7 separate regions of the Homo sapiens genome follow, and regions 1, 3, 4, 5, 6 and 7 are each linked to region 2. Evidence: promoter capture Hi-C in 16 types of primary human blood cells and fetal thymus (Javierre and others, 2016). All regions are on one chromosome and are shown on one strand. The core of a region is centred on a gene start or on the middle of the fragment in contact, and the rest is flanking DNA. Distances in the headings are between cores, read along the strand shown.

What was found. The method cuts DNA at HindIII sites, captures the fragments that hold promoters and counts their contacts. A CHiCAGO score of 5 or more calls a contact.
Region 1: a fragment that was not itself captured here is called in contact with the fragment with the promoter of MEX3B in region 2 in 3 of 17 cell types (fetal thymus, megakaryocytes and M2 macrophages); the score reaches 8.7 in fetal thymus.
Region 3: a contact is called between a fragment that was not itself captured here and the fragment with the promoter of MEX3B in region 2, in 1 of 17 cell types (fetal thymus). The highest score is 5.1, in fetal thymus.
Region 4: a fragment that was not itself captured here is called in contact with the fragment with the promoter of MEX3B in region 2 in 9 of 17 cell types (megakaryocytes, M2 macrophages, M1 macrophages and 6 more); the score reaches 14.8 in megakaryocytes.
Region 5: a contact is called between a fragment that was not itself captured here and the fragment with the promoter of MEX3B in region 2, in 1 of 17 cell types (megakaryocytes). The highest score is 7.3, in megakaryocytes.
Region 6: a contact is called between a fragment that was not itself captured here and the fragment with the promoter of MEX3B in region 2, in 6 of 17 cell types (fetal thymus, megakaryocytes, M1 macrophages and 3 more). The highest score is 13.2, in fetal thymus.
Region 7: a contact is called between the fragment with the promoter of RAMAC here and the fragment with the promoter of MEX3B in region 2, in 1 of 17 cell types (activated CD4 T cells). The highest score is 6.4, in activated CD4 T cells.

The regions. Positions count from the first base shown.
Region 1 is chr15:81,422,245-81,424,944 of GRCh38, forward strand. The region is part of intron 6 of TMC3-AS1 (TMC3 antisense RNA 1); the gene reads left to right. Among named protein-coding and RNA genes, the nearest start is that of TMC3, 49 kb to the left of the region's middle. The HindIII fragment of the contact is 2,911 bases long and covers 1-2,700 here.
Region 2 is chr15:82,044,698-82,047,397 of GRCh38, forward strand. MEX3B (mex-3 RNA binding family member B) reads right to left here and starts at 1,321. Exons shown (of 2, transcript NM_032246.6): 1 at 753-1,321. The coding sequence starts at 1,008. RefSeq lists silencers at 1,101-1,400, 2,251-2,570 and an enhancer at 1,624-2,570. The HindIII fragment of the contact is 3,768 bases long and covers 1-1,896 here.
Region 3 is chr15:81,262,043-81,264,814 of GRCh38, forward strand. All of the region lies in intron 3 of IL16 (interleukin 16), which reads left to right. Among named protein-coding and RNA genes, the nearest start is that of STARD5, 61 kb to the right of the region's middle. The HindIII fragment of the contact is 1,842 bases long and covers 601-2,442 here.
Region 4 is chr15:81,475,178-81,477,877 of GRCh38, forward strand. No RefSeq gene overlaps it. Among named protein-coding and RNA genes, the nearest start is that of TMC3, 100 kb to the left of the region's middle. The HindIII fragment of the contact is 2,319 bases long and covers 227-2,545 here.
Region 5 is chr15:81,456,357-81,459,323 of GRCh38, forward strand. No RefSeq gene overlaps it. Among named protein-coding and RNA genes, the nearest start is that of TMC3, 84 kb to the left of the region's middle. The HindIII fragment of the contact is 1,480 bases long and covers 891-2,370 here.
Region 6 is chr15:81,404,074-81,406,773 of GRCh38, forward strand. All of the region lies in intron 6 of TMC3-AS1 (TMC3 antisense RNA 1), which reads left to right. Among named protein-coding and RNA genes, the nearest start is that of TMC3, 31 kb to the left of the region's middle. The HindIII fragment of the contact is 1,860 bases long and covers 338-2,197 here.
Region 7 is chr15:82,984,913-82,987,612 of GRCh38, forward strand. It overlaps RAMAC (RNA guanine-7 methyltransferase activating subunit), which reads left to right and starts at 1,298. Exons shown (of 4, transcript NM_031452.4): 1 at 1,298-1,457; 2 at 2,424-2,472. It also overlaps a transcript of HOMER2 not described here. The HindIII fragment of the contact is 1,767 bases long and covers 714-2,480 here.

The DNA.
Region 1 (2,700 bases), core at 54-2,553, 620 kb before region 2:
AGTTCTATAATTTATGAGAATGCTGATTAAATTACCCTTCAGCAACCATCTTTTCATAGTATTATTTTTCCTTCAAAGCCACCCAAGAGCCATAAGAGATATAATGATTGTGCAAGAAAAGTTTTTCATTAAGGACTTTAATAAAATTAAATTAAATAAAATTTGAGAATCAATACAATGATGATAGGAATCTGTGGACATGATTATTTTTGGAAAAAACTTGCTGATCTCATATGCACGAATCTTTAAGTCAGACTTTGCACCCAGAATGGGTTGAAAATTTGGTCTCCATTTTGAGTTTGGGCACCAATTAATCATCTGTACATGTGCTTTTGTGCTTGGCTAAATACGATCAGCTCACAGAAGTTTGTTAGTGCATATTTGGTTTCATTCATTTCCCACATTTTGAGAAAAGGGTGCCTTGGTTTGGTGAGATAACAGAAGAGAGAATGGTAAAAACAAGTGTGTTCGATCTCCCTGAAATGATGCTCTGCTGTTCTTCAGGCTCTGTGACCTAGAAGGCTCCTCTTCTGTCTTTTTCCTCCTGGAATGTGAGAAAATCTGGCAAAGTGGGAGCCAGAGAGGCTAGGCCACTAAAAGCCTGTGTGCGAAATGATCTGTACACAGCGAATTGACTCCACCTTTCACACATTACTACTTAAATCATGAAAGGAGCATTGCAAGGAGGAAGTATTTTAACAGCAGAAGAAAACATGCCTCCAATGTCAAGAAATTTCAGCACAATTTTGTGCAGCCAGGACCAGATGAAGGGAAAGGCCAAGCAATATGTTTTGAGGACTGAATATCTATGCTTCCCCAAATTCATATGTTGAAATCCTAACTTCCGATGTGAAGATATTTGTAGGTGGGGCTTTAAGAGATAATTAGGTCACAAGGGCAGAGCCCCCATGAGTGGGATTAGTGCTCTTAGAAAAGGGACCCAAGAGGGCTGTCTCTCTTGCCCTCTTTCCGCCATATGAGAATCCAATGAGATGGCATCATCTGCAAATCAGGAAGAGGATGCTCACCAGACACCAGATCTGCCAGCACCTTGATCTTGGACTCCTCAGCCTCTAGAACTGTAAGAAATAACGTTTGTTGTTTAAGCAACCCAGTCTATGGCAACTTGTTATAGCAGCCTGAACTAAGATAATCTATAAGGTAAGGCAAATAAGAAAAAAATCCAAACCCAAAATGACTTTAAGCGACTCCTAGAGGAACCCTGCCAACATCACTAAGTTCAGAGAGGTAAAATCAGGCAACAAGCAGAATTATCTTCGGGGGTCCATAAAAATTTCCAGGTCTGGTCGCAACTGTCATATCTTGACACAAAGGGGCACATATTGGATCCCAGAAAGTTCTATGGACTTCTTAGGGCTTGCAAAAGTTGTATAATTTTATTGATTATATAAGTAATACATGTTCATTGTTGAGATTTTGGAAATAATAATCTATCATCTGACCTCTCTGAGAAAACCATTATTAACCTTTTAACTTTCTACTTTCTGTTATTTGCATTCATACATGTTTATCCATTATCCATGTAGCATTTTTTATCATGCTTTTGAACTCCATTTTATTTACATCATGATGACTTGATAGTGACAAAAAAGATTCCAAAATATGATTTTAATGACAGCATAAATGGCTGTACCGTAATATATTTAGTCATTTTCTATCATTGGATATTTACATTATTTCTAATTTCCCTTCATTATCATTATAGTTAATGTTTTTGAACGTAAGTCTAATTCCATATTTGGTTATTTCCTTACAATATTTTCCAAGACATAGAATTGGTGAAGAAAAGGTATATTATGAAAGCTACCAAAAATAAAATTTCAAATTTCCTTTTGATTATATTGATTCATTTACATTCCACTGTTGGGATCTGAGGGGAATCCTTTAACTATCCTTAATAATCTTTATATATATATATATATATATATATATATATATGTATATGTATATGTATGTGTGTGTGTATATATATATATTCAAAAATATTTGTCAATTGGCTAGATGGTTTTCTTATAGAAAAGTTCATTATTGATTTTCGTTAAATTGGACATGTTTTGCATTGCACTGGAGTGGGACATTTATTTGGCTGCTATGGTGAATTTCTGATGCCTATTTTCTTTTTCTTTTTAGTGATAAGGTCTCGCTGTATTGCTCAGGCTGATCTCAAACTCATGGCCTCAATTGATCCTCCCACCTCAGCCTCCCAAGTAGCTGAGATTACAGGCATGAGTCACCACACTCAGTGAATTTCCAATATCTTGTGTCAATTTTTCCGTTATGAGAAGAGGAGTAGGGAGGGCAGGGGTTCTTCTATTTTGCCATAGTATTTATCTCTGGTTCCTCCCTTGACCTCAGACCCGATATTTAATTCATCATCAAATCCTAATCGTTCCATCTCAAAAATAAAAGATACAACCAGAATTCTGCCGATCCTCATCATGCTCGCTGATAAGCCCGGTCACAACTACCATCATCTTCCATCCACACCAACCCAACAGCCTCCTAACCAGCCTATTTGCTTCCACTCCATTCCTTCACCATGTAGCCCTCACAGAGCAACCAGAGTGAGCTTTGAAAAATGAACATTATTCTTTTACTTAAACTTTCAAATGGCCTTTTAATCTCTCCTCATTTTTCTCCTTATCCCCATGACCACTGGTCTTCTTTCTGCATCTTTCA
Region 2 (2,700 bases), core at 71-2,570:
GCCCGCGTCCAGGACAGCGAGACGGCAGGACAAGAGATGGGCGGAAAGGGGGCGTCTCCCTCACTGACCTCGGGCCGCGCCACGGGCTGGGCAGCGGATCCCACCCGCGAGGCGCTCGAGGAACAGCCCATTGGCTGCCTGGCCCTCCCCCAGTGACTGCAGTCGTCCCGAACCAAACCCGAGAATCCCAGAAAAGTCATCTGGGGAGATGCCGCTGGGATCCAGCTGGGCGCGCCGTCAGCTCTGAAGACACGGGGAAGGGGCTCGGGGAAGGCAGCTGAAGTCGCGATGCCTCAGCGCTGGTCGACTGGGGGTAGGGGGTGGGGTGTGAGTCCCGGGACCCATTGTTCCTCCTCTGGGCTCCATTCCGCTTTGCAGAAATCCAGAATCCTCCTCCCATCCTATGCTCACTCCTCCTCCTTCCTCCTCCCAAAGGACTGATCAAAGGCCCCCTCCCCCAAGCATCTTACATTTAAATTGTCTTTCTGGAGGTGGGCTGGTTGGGGGGCGTTAGGGGAGAAGGCAGTGATTTTAGCAGAAGAAAGTGCATCCCGCCAGGGCAGCGGCGCGGCTCCGGGAGACAGCCTGCCTGCACTTTCTTTGTCTGGGGCGCCGGCCCATCGCGCGGCTCTTCCTCTCTCCCCAAGGCACCCCACGCCGCGGATCCCGATACTGAACACGCCTTCCCCTCGAGGCAGTGGCCTGAGACCCTACACCACCCCCACCCACCTCCCCATCCCTCCTCGACCTACCTTGCCGCCCCACGATCTCGGCGACATGCTCAGAACTGGGTACTGGCACGCACTCGGTCATGTTCACGCTCTTCTTGCGCGGCTCGCTGTCGTACAGAGAGGCGCCCTCGTCACTGTCCAGCCCCAGCAGGGAGAGCTGGTCGAGCGCGAGCTGCAGGGCTCTTTGGTCATCCAGGGTCTCTCCCCCTCCGCTGCTGCCGCCGCCGCCGCCGCCGCTGCCGTTGCGCTCCAGGTCTGCGAACAGCGAGCTGGGCATCGCTCGGCCGTGCGCGCCGCGCCCCCGCCGGCCCTCGGCTCGGCGGCGAGAAGCTGCGGCCACAAAGGCAGCCGGGAAGCGGGTGGTCAGGGGCGGGGAGGCCGGTCGCCTGCTGAGGGCTCCGTTGCTTCTTCCTCGGTGCTGGGAGGAGTGGGTCGCTCCGTGCGGTCCGCACCGGGCAGTGGCTGCAGGAGCCCCCACCTGGGTCCCCACCCCAGACCTGCTGGCGGGTGGGGTGGGGGCAGAGCTCTAGCGGTGGCCGCGCGTGCCCCCCGAGTGCCCGGCTGGCTGGCCGCAATGCCGAGCGAAAAGCGAGCAGGCGAGCGACAGAAGCGTTTCTTTAAGGAGCCCCTCCCCGGCTCCTCCACTCCCTCCCTCCCGCCCGCCCGCCCGCCCTCACTCAGCGCTTTTTCCTCCTCTCCTCCCCGCCTCTTGACTGAGCCTCTGCAGCCAGACGACTCCGGAGGGGGACGAGGGAGGCGCAACGTCACAGGCGGGAGCTGACACCACAATGCTACTGACACTATCGCTGGGGGAGGCGATTGGCGCGCGCCAGGCCGGGGGCGGGAGGAGGCCGCGGGTTGAGCGAGCGGAGAGAGAGCGCCACCCCCCACCCCCGCGCTCGCCGCAGCCCGCCCCGTCCTCCTCCCGGCCGCGCCCCTCCCCCGCCGCCGCTAACGCCTCTCTTTGTTGTCTAATGCGGGACTGGCAGGCTCGGGACACTTGGATGTACCTATCAGCCGAGGACAATCATTGTCCCTAAGTCTCCTCCCTCGCCTGACTGAGAAAAGAAAACGCGCCCAACTCTGATGCCTGGAGCCGGGCTCTAAAAGAGCGGTCCTCAGGAAGTCCCGTTAGTGGCTCCAAATAAACCATCCGTGGAGCCAAAGCTTCCTCTGTGAGAAGAGTCTGTAGTCCGCCCAAAAGGGCGACCCGAGCCCTCCGACACGGAAAACGGGACTCCAGGTCTTGGGGCGCACGGGCAGAGTGACTCCCGGCGCGGGTTGTCCACCTGCGCGGGAGCGCACGAGACACAAAAGCACACGCCCGCCCACACTGGCAACCGCGCGCGCGCGCGCCCGCGCCTGCATTTCTGTCTCCTTGGGCAGCACTTCGCCCAACTGGCCCTGAAACTGAGGATGGGAAAGCTAAAAGCTGGCTGCCGCGCGAGCTCGGCCCGCCCGGCCGCTGGCGACCTCTGGAATGCATGGCACCAGTGTCCAGCACACGCCCGGCGCCCGGGCCGAGACCCTGCGGGTTCTGACACGCGCACGAGCGCCGCGCCGCCACCGCGGGGACGCAGGCCACAGCGCCAGCGGGCGGCGCGGGCGTGCGCGCCCGCTGTTCCCATCCCTCCCCTCCGTGCCCCGCGGCCGAGCATGCGCAGTGCGCGCGAGGAGCGGGCGGGCCCTTTAAGGCGGGCGCTGCGGAGCGCGCGCCGGCCCCGCCCGCGGCCCCGCCCCGACGGGAGGTGAGCGCTCCCTGCCCGGCCGCTCTTTGTGCGCTTCTCGGGGTGGGGGTGGCGGCAGAGGGAGGTTGCGACGGCACTTGCCGGCGAGGACGGCGAGCTGCGCCCCCTCCCGGATCTCCCAGGGACCGTCTCCGAGTGCGAGAGAGAAGGAAGGAGGATTTGAGGGGCGGGCCGGGGCGGTGCGCGCTGGTCCTCTCCGCGCGCATCCCCCTCCGCCGCCC
Region 3 (2,772 bases), core at 272-2,771, 780 kb before region 2:
GCAACAGAGTGAGAGCCTGTCCTGCCCCCCCGAAAAGAGGTGAAGTTAAACATTCATACAGGTGAAGTTAAACATTCCTTCATTTATTTATTTTGTTTTTGGTGAGTTTGCCTATTCTTTACTGAAATAATCATCTTTTTATCATTAATTTATAAAAAGCCTCTTGGTTAAATTAATATTTGACGTCATACTTGTTGAAAATACTTTCTCCAGTTCGTTGCTTTTATTTTAATTTTTTAACATTAAGGTGTTTTAATCTTTATGTAATCAAGTTTACTGATCTTTTCTTTTTTAATGTGAAAGTTACTTCCACATTCAGATAACTATTAAGTCTGTGACTATATATACTTCTAATTTGTAAATGATTTATCTTTTTTCCCTCAAATTTACTGTATTATCTGTAGTTTATTTTTGGTGTTTGATATGATGTAAGAATCTAGGTAGATTTTTTTTTTCTAAATGAATAGAGAATTATTCTAGCATCACTTATTTACAATCAGTTCCTTTTATTTTGCGTTTTTTGTTTGTTTTGTTAATCTCATGCAAACGATATGCAGTTAGGTCCCTGAAAGCAAATTTGGCAATTTTTTTAAGAAGAGAAGCTTAAGGCCGGGCGCAGTGGCTCACGCCTGTAATCCCAGCACTTTGGGAGGCCGAGGTGGGTGGATCACCTGAGGTCAGGAGTTCGAGACCAGCCTGACCAACATAGAGAAACCCTGTCTCTACTAAAAATACAAAATTAGCCGGGAGTGGTGGCACACGCCTGTAATCCCAGCTACTCAGGAGGCTGAGGCAGGAGAATCACTTAAACCTGGGAGGCAGAGGTTGTGGTGAGCCGAGATTGTGCCACTGCACTCTAGCCTGGGCAACAAGAGTGAAACTCCATTTTAAAAAAAGAAAAGAAGCTCAGATAGTTGAAATCAGTGTTATAGATCATATTTATTTTTACTTAGCTCTTTTTATGCTTTTTATTTTGATGATTCCTTGCCATTTGTTTGTTCTTGGCCTCTTGCTATAATGATTGTGAAAGGTTTATTTAATTATTGTCTCTACTTCTGATTTCCTTAAGTTTTAATTAATTACCCAATTAAGTTTAATCAATTAATTAATATCTGACATAACATTTTCCAAATTGTCCCCCTCATGAAAGATGAAGAAGTTAGCTTGGTGTTATTCATCCCTTTTCCATGGATTTTTCCATTTTGTAATTCAACATAACTTTATAAACTCATGACAATATGTAGCTCTAATATAGCTTTTTTGTATATAATCATGACAATATATAGCTCCCCTTTCAAAAACTATTTTTTTTTGTTTTTTTTTTTTTTGCATTGGGTTGTAATAACCAGCTTTCAGTTAACTCACTTAATACTCTACACTTAACTGGTTTAAACTTCCCCCAATGGAGATGATAATTTTGGTACATTTCCTAGTTGGCTGGAGTGCGTCAACAAGCAATGTTCTGAAACAGTGGGCCGAAGTGGGCACAGAAATCGACCCCAGACCAGGGAGAGTTTTGGAGAACCCACTCTGTCCTGACTCTGGTCTGCGTCCCCACAGATCTGAATGTCTAGTGGGAACTGGAACCCCCACACAAGTGGAGCTGGGTGTGGCCTGAGCAGTTGCACTGGGCTCTCCTGTGGCTCTGAGGTCAGGTTGATCTGCTCTGTGAACCATTCCAAGTTGGCAGCCTGTTTGTTCATCCTCATTCCCTCTGAACCCAAAGCATGCACCACTGGCCACCTTCAAGTCACAGGTCACCCTTGCACTGCTGTGGATGGAGAGAATGCAGGGAGACTGGGATTCTGGAGGCTGAGGTCATGCCTCAGACTGTTTCTTCACTGATCCGGAACCCTCTGGGCTTCCATTTCCTCACTGATAGAGGAAGGAGTAACTCCAGCAGGGTTCCCAAAGGACAAATGACGAGCCACCTGCATCATCTGCACAGGCTGACAAACATACAGGTTTCCCCAGACCCGAAACGTGCAGATATGGATCAATAGGTTGGGTGGAGCACTGAAATCTACCTTTCTATTAAACACTCCGGATAAATATAATGCACAGGCAGAGTTAGCACTAGAGGATGTCTAGCCTCTCCTCTCACCCCCCTTTCTTGATTCTGTGTCCTCTCTTTGCAGCGTGTGGTTTTCTGAATCTTCTGGCTTCCTCTCCCTCCTGGTCCATCTGGGAGCAGTTGGTCCCTGTAACTCAGAGAGGGCCACCTACTTGCGCTGAAGCAGCTGCTGGGAGCAGCTGTTCTTGCAGGGGCAGGTTTCCCCAGCCACTCTCTGGGCCCCGATGGACCAAAACCTCTCCCTTCTTCACCTTGTCTTTGTTCCTTTCCTCATCCCCTTTTAGGGATCTCACACCCTCAGAGATACCACTCCTCTTTTCTTCTCAAGCTACCCTGGCCAGTGGCTTCCTCTCTTCAGCCTATAAATAAGCTTAAGTCTTTCCCATCCTGAAAATAAAAGCAAACCCAACCCTGCTCCATCCTGTGTTTCCTTTGAACTACCACCAATCTTACCTTTTCCTCTAGGGGAATTTTTCACAAAAGCCTGTCCATTCACTCGAGCCTCACTTGGCCCTCAGGATACTAGGCAAACCCTGCCCCTCTCCTGGCCTCTAGAACGGAACTGCCCAACACATTAGCCACATGTAGTCTTGAGCACTTGAAATGTGACTTATTCAAACAGAATGTGCAGAAAGTATCAAAGACCCACTGGATTCAAAGACTAAGTGCAAGAAGAAAAGGATGTAAAATATCTCACT
Region 4 (2,700 bases), core at 136-2,635, 570 kb before region 2:
TAAAAATATATATCAAAGAAATTAGACATATTAGCTTGCATGTGTATAGGAGCTGGGAATTGGGATGAAAAGTAAGAAAAAAGAGAAATCAGAGTCCCCTTACACAGGCTGGTGATAATAGCGTGTCATGTACTGAAGGGTTTGCTTAACTCAATTCTCTGTACGTTGTATCCAGGCACATCATTGCTAGGGGCTGAACTGTGTCCTCCGAGAATGTATATGTTGAAGCTTTAGCCCCCAGTGACTATATCTGGAGAGAGAGTCTTTAGGATGTAATTAAGGTAAAATGAGATCATAAGGGTGGGGCCCTAATCCAATAGGATCCATGTCCTTACAAGAAGAGGAAGACAGAGATCTCTCAGTCTCTCAGTCTCTTCTCCCATATGAGGACGCAGAGGGAAAGTAACCATCTGCAAGCCAAGAGGAGCCCCCACCAGAACCCGACCATGGTAGCATCCTGACCTCAGACTTCCAGCCTGCAGAACTGGGAGAAAGTACATTTCTGTGGTTTAAGCCACCCAGTCTATGGAGCCACCCAGTCTATGGTATTTTGTTATGGCACCCTGAGCTGACTGAGACAATCAAATCACATTATTCCATGATAAATGTGGTATTTTGGAAATTTGGCTTTTGATAACTAGTGTGTGGACAATTGGCTAAATATTTTTGTAAAAAAAAAAAGGGTACTTCATATCTTACAGCAAATTCCAAATGGATTAAAGATTTAAATGTAAAAAAGATAAGAAAAATTCTAAATAAAATGTTATCACATGGGTTTAGAGTTCATGAAAAGAAAAAAATGCCATGATTACATAGGTTGCATTTTATGAAGACAGGAACATTTAAACATGAAGCCAAAAGAAATAAAAGTCACAGATGAACAGTAATGGAATTAGCCTGATAGACATTACCATCCCACCCCACAAAAAATATTTTGATAAAACTCAGCCATTTATTTTGGTTAAAAGTTCTTGATAAAATAGGAATGAAAGGATGCTTCCTTCATAGCATAAATATCTCAAATCGAGTCAACTTCATGCTTGAAAGTGAACTGTATGAGGAATAGCCACTAAAATTAAGAACAAGTTATAAATATCTCCTGTTACTATTATTACTTAACATGGGTTTGGGATTTTAGTCCCTTGTGATCAGACAAGGGAAATGAACAAGATAAAATATTTAATAGATGAAAAAAAATCACATTTTTTGCAGATGATATCATTTGCATAAAAACTAAAAATAATATAAAGTCAATTATAACTGATGAAAATTTCAATAAAGGGAAAATTATAAAACAAACACAAAAATATAACAAGTACAAAAGAATACATTTTCTATATATCAGTAATATGCGATTGAAAAGTATAATGGAAGAAGGATTCCATTCATATTAGAAGCATAAAAAATCTTGAAACAATATTGACAGAAAATAGGCAGGTCATATATTTTTATGCTCACATATATGTTAACATTTACTGTCAATATTGTTTATATATATATATATATATATATATATATATGAACATTTACTGAGGAGTGGGAAAATCAGAATAAATGGAAATTTTGCTTGAGAAGATAATTTAATGTTCTCAGTCCATCCCAAGTATATCTATAATTTGAACACAGCTTTAAAATTTTTAAATGACTTGTTTTGGAAATTGAAAATAAAGAAAAACAAAACTTTATCTCAAAGAAAAATGATTGAAAATAGTACAAAAGGAAGAGTAATAAATTTGAGTTACAAATAGAAATAGAAGATGAAGTTAAAATAATTTAACCACTATGAAACCAGCACAGAAATAGATAGAATTAAAATCCAGAAAATAGACAAGCACATAATGTAAACCTAGCAGATGAAAAAGGTGTGAGTTCAAATTCCTGAGAAAGAATAAAGATTATTTAGTAAATGCCATTGAATCAATTGGCTTAAACATTTGGGGGAAAAAAGAACATAGAATCTAGCTTATGTGTTATACCAAATTAGATAGTAAATATGCTAAGATTTAACTTTCAAAAATAAAAGTATGAAAGTAGTAGATGAAAATACAGGCTAATTAGGAAAGGTCTATTTATGAATGACATCAAAGGCAGAAATCACAAAGAAAAGTGGTTTAGATTAATTGAACCAAAAATTATTTTGTTATCAAAGCCATCATGAAAAGAATTTAGAGAGAAATAAACTGGCTAAGAGGTTATTGTCTTTAACATGTAAAGGGCTCTTTCAAATCAATAAAAATATAAAAACACAATGGACAAATCGGTAAAGACTTTAAAGAGAAGTTTCTCCAAAGATGAATTCAAATAAACATATAAATATTTGACCTGAACAAAAATTATGGAAACTAAAATATGAAAAATAACATTTGCCCATATCACATGGAAAATAATGTGAATGCCTTCATGGCACTAGGAGAAATGGGCAATCTTATTCACTTTTAGAAGAAATGCAAATAACTCTACACTGTCTGAAACTCAGGTTTTTCAGTGTATCTCAAAAGTCTTAAACGTGTGCATTTTCTTTGATCTAGCAATTCTGCTTCTAGGAAGCTTTCCCAAGGAAATAATTAGGTCAAAAATTAACCGTAAGGCTCTGCTACACAAAGTCTTTCATGCATTGTGAGGGGACAGTAACTGAAAAGCAGAGCAAATTGTTCAATCATAGCAGGTTTGTTAAGTAATTTGTAGTCATTCAATTTATTA
Region 5 (2,967 bases), core at 381-2,880, 590 kb before region 2:
GAAGCGATGCTGAATTTCATTCAGTGATTTTTCTGCATCTATTGAGATGTTCATAAGGTTTTTGTCTTTAATTCTGCTTGTATAATGCATCACATTTATTGATTTGCGTGTGTTGAACCATCCACGCATCCCTGGGATAAATTCAACCTGATCATGGTATATTATATTTTAAATGTGCTGTTGGATTTGATTTGCTAGTATTTTGTTAAGGATTTTTGCGTCTATGTTCATCATATATATTAATCTGTAGTTTTCTTTTTTTGTTGTACCTTTGTCCGATTTTGGTATCAGAATGATAATGGCCTTGTAAAATGAGTTAGGGATAACTCCCTTCCACTTGATTTTTTTGGGCTAGTTTCAAGGGGATAAGTATTAGTTCTTGTTTGTGTGTTTGATAGAATTCAGCTGTGAATGCATCGGGTCTCAGGCTTTTACTTATTGGAAGATTTTTTAATTTGTGATTGTGAGAAGTGAAGCCAGCTGGACTTCCTCCGTGGAGTGGGGACTTGGAGAACTTTTCTGTCTTACAAGGGGTTTGTAAAATGCACCAATCAGCACTCTGTAGCTAGCAAGAAGTTTGTAAAATGCACCAATCAGCGCTCTGTAAAAACGCACCAATCAGTGCTCTGTAGCTAGCAAGAGGTTTGTAAAATGCACCAATCAGCACTCTGTAAAATGCACCAATCAGTACTCTGTAAAATGGACCAATCAGCACGCTGTAAAATGCACCAATCAGCAGGAGTCTAAAAGAAGCCAATCGCGGGGAGGATTGAGAAAAGGGCATTCTGATAGGACAGAAACAGGACATGGGAGGGGACAAATAAGGGAATGGAGCTGGCCATCCCAGCCAGCCAGCGGCAAACCACTCAGGTCCGGTTCCATGCTGTGGAAGCTTTGTTCTTTCGCTCTTCACAATAAACCTTGCTACTGCTCTTGGGTCTGTGAGCTGTAACACCGTGAAGGTCTGCCTCCATTCTTGAAGTCAGCCAGATCATGAACCCACTGGAAGGAACCAACTCCAGACACAATTCCATCTTGCTACTGATTTTAGTTTGTTCAGGGGCTGTGTTTTTTCCTCATTCAATCTCAGTAGGTTGTGTGTTTCCATGAGTTTATCTGCTTCCTCTGGGTTTTCTAGTTTGTGAGCCTATAATTGTACATAATAATCTCTGATTATTTTTGTATTTTTATAGTATCGGTTGGGATGTCTCCTTTTTCATATGTGATTTTGTTTGTTTGGATCATCTCTATTCTTGGTTAATCTAGCTAGTGGTTTCTCAATATTGCTTATCTTTTCAAAGAACCAACTTTTTGTTTTGTTCATCCTTTGTATTTTTGAGGGGGTCTCTTTTATTTAGTTACACTCTCATCATTGTTATTTCTTTTCTTTTGCTAACTTTGGGTTTGGTGTGTTCTTTTTAATCTATTTCTTGAGGTGTAATGTTGGGCTGTTAATTTGTAATCTTTCTAATTTTTTGATGTAGGCATCTAATGCTATAAATTTCTCTCTTTGCACTCCCTTGGCTATATCCTACAGGGTTAGGTATGTTGTATTTTCATTTTTATTCATCTCAAAAAAATCTTTAAATTTTCACATTAATTTCTTCATTGACCCAGTCATTGTTCAGGAGCATGCTGTTTAATTTCCAGATATTTGTATAGTTTCTGAAGTTCTTCTTGGCATTGATTACTAGCTTTATTCCACTGTGGTCTGAGAAGTTACTTGATATTATTTCAGTTTTTAAACATTTGTTAAGACCTGCATTGTGGCCTATAAGATGCAGTCTATCTTAGAGAATGTTCAATGTGCTAGTGAAAAGAATATTCTGTAGCTGTTGGGAAGAATGTTCTCTAAATGTCTATTAGGTTCATTTGGTCTAAAGTCCAATTTTCAAAATTAGTTTTCTGTCTTGATGATGTGTCTAGTGCTGTGAATAGGGTGTTTAAGTCACTCACTATCATTGTATTGCTGTTTATCTCATTACTTAGGTCTAATAATATTTGCTTTGTGAATTTGGGTGCTTCAATGTTGGGTGCATATATATTTAGGATTGTTATTTGCTCTTGCTGAATTGATTCCTTTATCATTATATAATGACCTTTTTGTCTGTTTAAAAAAACTGTTTTTGATTTAAAGTCTCTTTTATCTAGTAAGTATAGTGACTCCTGCTCAGTTTTGGTTTTCATTTGCATAGAATATCTTTCTCCACCTCTGAGTTTTTTTTTTTCCATCTATGTGCCTTTAAAGGTAAGGTGAGTTTCTTGTATGTAGCATATAGCTGGATCGTTCAAAAAATTCATTTAGCCAATCTGTATTTTTTTAGTGGAGCATTTAATTCATTTACATTAAAGGTTAATATTAATATGTGAAGCTTTGTTCCTGTCACATTGTTGTTTTCAACTTGGTTTTAAAAATTCTTTGTTTCGTTTTCTTTTTTTGTCTTTGTGGTTTGATGAAACTCTGTTCTGTTGCCATTTGATTCCTTTCTTTTCCTCCTTGTTTTATAAGAACTATGAGTTTTATATTTTCGTGTGTTTTCATGATGGTGAATATCAACCTTTCATTTCCATGTTTATGACCCCTTTGAGCATTTCCTTTAGGGCCAGGCTAGTGATGAGAAATTCCCTCAGTGTTTGCTTGTCAGGAAACAACTGTATTTCTCCTTTATTTATGAAGCTTATTTTGGGAGGATATAAAATCCTTGGCTGGCAGTCCTTTTCTTTCAGTGCTTTGAAAATACTATTGTATTCTCTCCTTACCTGTGAGGTTCTGCTGAAAAGTCCACTGTTAGCCTGATGGGGTGGGGTTTTTTTTTTTTTTTTTTTTGAATAGGTGACTAGACATTTTTCTCTTGCTAATTTTAAAATTACTTATTTTAATTCAACTTTAGACATTCTGAATATAACATGCAGTGGTGAAGTCCTTTTTGTAATATATTTTTCTGGGGATTACTGGGCTTCTTATAT
Region 6 (2,700 bases), core at 18-2,517, 640 kb before region 2:
AATCAGAAAAATACACTAGATGTAAATAATAAATAGAGCACCTGTGAAGACAGAGGTTGATCTGTATATGCTGAGAGAAATGAAGATACAAGAGAAATGATGTCACCAGCTGAAATGCTGTCACATTGTTGTCTTCATTCTTTTAGAAGAACTAAAGAAATAAAAGAATGAGCATCTGAAAATTAGATTGTATTGATAAACATTGATCCATTCACCCACCAGTCCCATTGTGTTCTGTTACAAAGTTTTTCAAAATGGCATTGTGAAATCTTTCAAGGGTTTGTGAAAAATAAGGTATAGCATCTCTTTGGTGAGCCAAATGAGTTTTTCTAAAATAAGCTTGGTAATTTTCACCCTAAAGTTGATGTATTTTAGTGTAAAAAATGAAGAGGTAGTGAAGTGTAATGGAGGGTGGGAGCCAGGCTCCTCACTGTTGGAGTGGGAAGTTACAGACGAGCAAAGGGAGGAGGCTAGAATAATCCATGGGTAATTGATTAGAGTGGGAGACATCTGTATAAACTCATATTTAGCTTAATATATAAATAGTACATGAATATTTATAGATGTATCTGTACATGGGTTATATAGATACGTGTATACATGTATTTCTCTATTTTGTCAGCTGAGAGGAACTAGAGGTAATAAATGACACCCAAGTAGTAGCAAGTAAAGTTAGAACTCAGATCCTGGTTTCTAATACCATTCTCTGATAGAAGGAATGAGGGCTCCTTGGAGCAATGGATGATTCTAAGGATGGAGGAGAAACATCTTGCAATGCTAGTAATAAGGAAATGCACAGAAAAACTGACACTGATGGGCCTATGCCAAGGATACAGGAACTGACAGAAAGCTCCCAATGGCCAAAGGCAGAACAAGCTGTGCAACAAAATAAACAAAGTGGTACTGAATTATAACCCAATATATAAAATAAATATTGATGGGTCTACACTGATATAAACAAAATGACTGCATAAATAAATAAATGGAGAAGAATAGCCAAATCTCCAGTGCAGAAGAATTTCAAATAATTTATGCAGATACTGTGAGGGTTAATTTTGTGTGCTAACTTGGAGGATGTTTTCAGATGTGATTAGCATTTAAATGGGTGCACTTTGAGTAAAGCAGATTGTCCTCCATTATATGGGTGGGTCTCATCCAATTAGTCGAACCATGAATCAAACCAAAAGACTGCCCTCCCCAAGCAGGAAGGAATTCTTCAGTGGACTGCCTTTGGACTTCATCTATATTCTTGGCTTACCTGAGTCTTGAGCCTGACAACCCACACTGCAGATTTTTGACTTCCTGGCCTCCAGAATTGCATGAGCCAATTCCTTATAATAAATCCTTCTCTCCACATATACACACACATACATCCTATTGGTTCCGATTCTCTATAGAACCCTGACTAATACAGATAATTTGCATTCAAGAAAAGTGAGCATGATTCGCATTCCTTACGTGTGGGCTGCATATACTGACTTCCTTCCAAAGAGTACAGTGTGGAAAATAGAGGGAGAAGAGTAACTTTACAGTGGAGAAGACTGGCAAACTACCTCAGCCAGGTGACCAAGGTCAACATCAACAATGACCAGTCATGTTGATGGTATGTATCCTTGATATCATGAAAATGGCACTGTACCTGTGATCCTCCTCTCCTACCCCATAATCCCAGTCTAATGAGAAAAACATTAGACAAATACAAATTGATGAATATTCTACAAAAATACCTGACCAACACTCCTCAAAAGTGTCAAGGTAATCAAAACCGAGGAAACTCAGAGACTTTCAAGGCCAAGAGGAGTCGAAGGAAACAGGACAATTAAATGTAGTATGGTATCCTGAATAAGATCTTGGGAGAGAAAAAGGACATTAGGTATAAACTAAAGCAATCTAAATGAAGTATGGACTTTGGTTAATGACAATGTATCTATATTGGTTCATTAATTGTGACAAATATACCATATTAATATAAGATGTTACTAACAGAGGAAACTGTGTGGGGTACACAGGATCTCTCTGTACTAGTTCCTTAATTTTTCTGTAAATGTAAATCTACTCCAAAATAAAAAGTTTGTTTAAAAAAAAAGAAAAAGGAGGAGGAGGAGGATGAAAAGATGGAAAAAATAAACTAGGGAGGCACCTTTTAGAGTTCTACTTCTCACAGCAAAAAGAACTACAAGTTATTCCACTACCAAGAAGCTTGCAGGGTTAGCCACAAAACCAATGATAAGTATTGTACCTGGGAAAATAATCAATTAATCTTTGCAATTCTAGTCAGATCATACTGTTGGACACCACATCATAGCAATGGCACATGATAGATTACAACAAATGCTATTGTTTAAAAATTATCCAAAATGTAGAAATAAAGCAAAAGAAGATTGCTCGTGCTTTCAATATCATATACCAGACCAGCATCTATCAGGCCCATCAAGCATTATTTCATTTTTTAAAAGATGGACTCTTGTTGATTAACTACTTTCTGTTAATTAAAGCCAAGACTCTGAAGTCACGTGTTAACTTGTAGATTTTTGTCTAATGGAGATGCAAAACATTAACTAGTTATATCTCTGACTTAGCAAATTTATTTTGGTATTCCTTTCCTAATAGACTGTGTAATCTTTTTTTTCTCTAATTTTTCTTTCAATCATTCTGTGCACGTTGCTGGTTTCCTCATCAATAAATCAACAGCTCATTGAC
Region 7 (2,700 bases), core at 48-2,547, 940 kb after region 2:
GGGAAAGACTTGCAAGTAAATAATTTTAGTTCGAAGTTAGAAAGTGGTAATAACTAAATACATGAAATTCCAGAAATATGATGGACTCTCAATAGAAAGAAAAATTATTTCTAGGTAGAGATGTCACTTTCTAAAGCTTTAAATAATGGAAAGAATTTCAACATTTGGAGATGAGGGGGAGAGACAGGTATTTCATGCAAGGGACATGAGCAATCTATAAAAATGTAATAATTTATGCATGACGTACTTCACAGGGTCTGGTTTACCACTGACTGAGGGAGAATGGAAGGGGAACAGCAGAAAATAAAAAAAGTTTTGAATCCAAGTTAATAAACTTGACCTTTAATCTACAGGCAACAGAGAGCCATTGGATCAGCTATTTTGGATCACGGTGGTGCTTGAAGATGGCTACACCTATAGCAGGTATATGTAAGATAGGCTAGTAGCAGAGTGATGCTAGAGGCAGGACATCAATGAGAAAGGTACTGCACTGACACCGTGCAGGGGATGGTAATGAGAACGTTGATTAGGTGGGGGCAGTGGGTAAGAAGATGCAAGAATTACTGTAGGGGTACAATCGACAGGACTTGGCAAGTGATTGGAGCATGGAAAGGCAAGAAAGGGCATCAAATCTGACATCAAAGTTTCCAAGTTGGTTGTATTAACAAAAACGGGTGCATAGCCTGGGAAGTAATTTGGGAGGGAAGAGGCCAAGCTTTGTCGGGATATTAAGTGTTTATACATTTGCTGAACATCCCACAAGACATGGGCAAGACTCTTGGAAGTAGCTGGATACTGACGACTGAAGCTGGAGCAGAGAGGGGGTATGTTTCTGCAAAACCACATACAAAACGGACTACGGAAATCTTACTACCGAGGCTTGCCCAGGCAGGAGAGAAAGGTGTAGCATCCCTGAAGTCATCAGTCGTGTCTACTCTTCACCGCCTGCTCTCACCTCACGTTCCCCACGAAGACTCCGGGAGCAGGCGGCCGGAAGGAGCCCTTCCCTCCCTTCTCCGGTGATTCCCAGAACTTCCGTCTCTACCCGTCACCTGCTCCCAATCAAAGGAGCTTAATAGACGGCGACGTTTTCGACTGCCCAGCCACCAGGCAGGCTGAAAGTGCATGGAGGGCATCATCCACCTTTAGACAGCTACTTGCCCACACCTCATCGAGCTCTGGGCGTTGTGCCAGCATTTGAAGAAGCGATCTGTTGCAAAGCGATCCACACGGAGAGCCTTAGTTATCGCGAGACTTGACAGGCACCCTCAACTTTAGCCCGCCGGAAGCGGAAGTCAGGTGGTTGTCGGATTTTAGAGGAAGGCGCTCGGTTACATTGGAGAACTGGAGTGGTCTGGAGTTCCACGGTGTAGTGGACCAGAGGCCACCTCTCCTGGGCTTCTCAGTGTCTCGCCGGCGGGGTTCGGCCTGAGCTGGATTGACATAGCCCTTGGCGGGTGAGTCGCCCCGGACGCCCGGGAGGAGGGAGCGGGGCGGCCGAGCTGGGTGGCCAGCGAGGTGTCCTCCCCCTGTGCGGTGATCTGTACTCTTTGCTAGACCGAAGCCCGTTTACTTCTCACGGCCCATAATTTCCCTCACTTCTGGAGGTATAAGGTGCTTCGGAAGGGAGCAAATCTGCCAGAACCTTGGTAAGCAAGCTGTGATGTGCCTTGAGGACGGACTGGAAAACGCAGTTGTTTTCAGTCTGCATCTTCGTCTGTTCCCCGGGCTCACCTCCCAGGGCAGCGAAACCCCATTCTGGTTGGTTATTTCCAGGGTTAGTCGCCCGCAGCCAAAGTTCTTTGTGGTTTTATTTGTGGTGAATAAATTAGCAGTATTCAAGTACAAATCTGAAAGGCTTACCCTAAAAGAACATACATACTTTATGAAGTTTGTATTCATACTTGAACTATTTTGCTTTTGAAGGCCCAGAGGACAAATCTTGTAGCTTCTTGCTCTTGAGAACCAGTTCCCTCTTTGGAATATTAGCTTTGGAAGTCTTTAGAGCGTTTTTTTGGTTTGTTTTTTGTTTTTTTTTTGAGACGGAGTCTCGCTCTGTCGCCCAGGCTGGAGTGCAGTGGCGCGATCTCCGCCTCCCAAGTTCAAGCGATTCTCCTGCCTCAGCCTCCCGAGTAGCTGGGACTACAGGCACATGCCACCACGCCTGGCTAATTTTTTCTATTTTTAGGAGAGACGAGGTTTCACCGTGTTAGCCAGGCTGGTCTCGATCTCTTGACTTCGTGATCTGCCCGCCTCGGCCTCCCAAAGTGTTGGGATTACAGAGGTGAGCCACCGCGCCTGGCCTTAGAGCACTTTTACTCCAATTCTTTCCTTGAATAAGACTCTTATGCGCCACCCTCCCCTACAAACACCTTTTGAGAGTTTCCTTAAATAAAGTCAAGTTTGTTTTTTTCCTCCCACAGATTTAAACAACCTAAACATTAAGCAGTACAGCTGCCTCAAACCTTTGGGGTAAGTAAAGCTTGGGTCGATTAACATTCTATTTAAATTTCGTTCTCAGTAATAATACAGTTGATATTTGTTTACATGAGTATGGGTGGGGAGTCGTGGGAGAACATATGAGAACATAAAAATGGAGTAGCACCTTTTCCTTGCCTTATGATTTTTACTGCCCATCTGGATTAGGTATGGGTCATCTTTTTAGTGATTTCTGTGATCCCACTAGAATTCTAGACATGA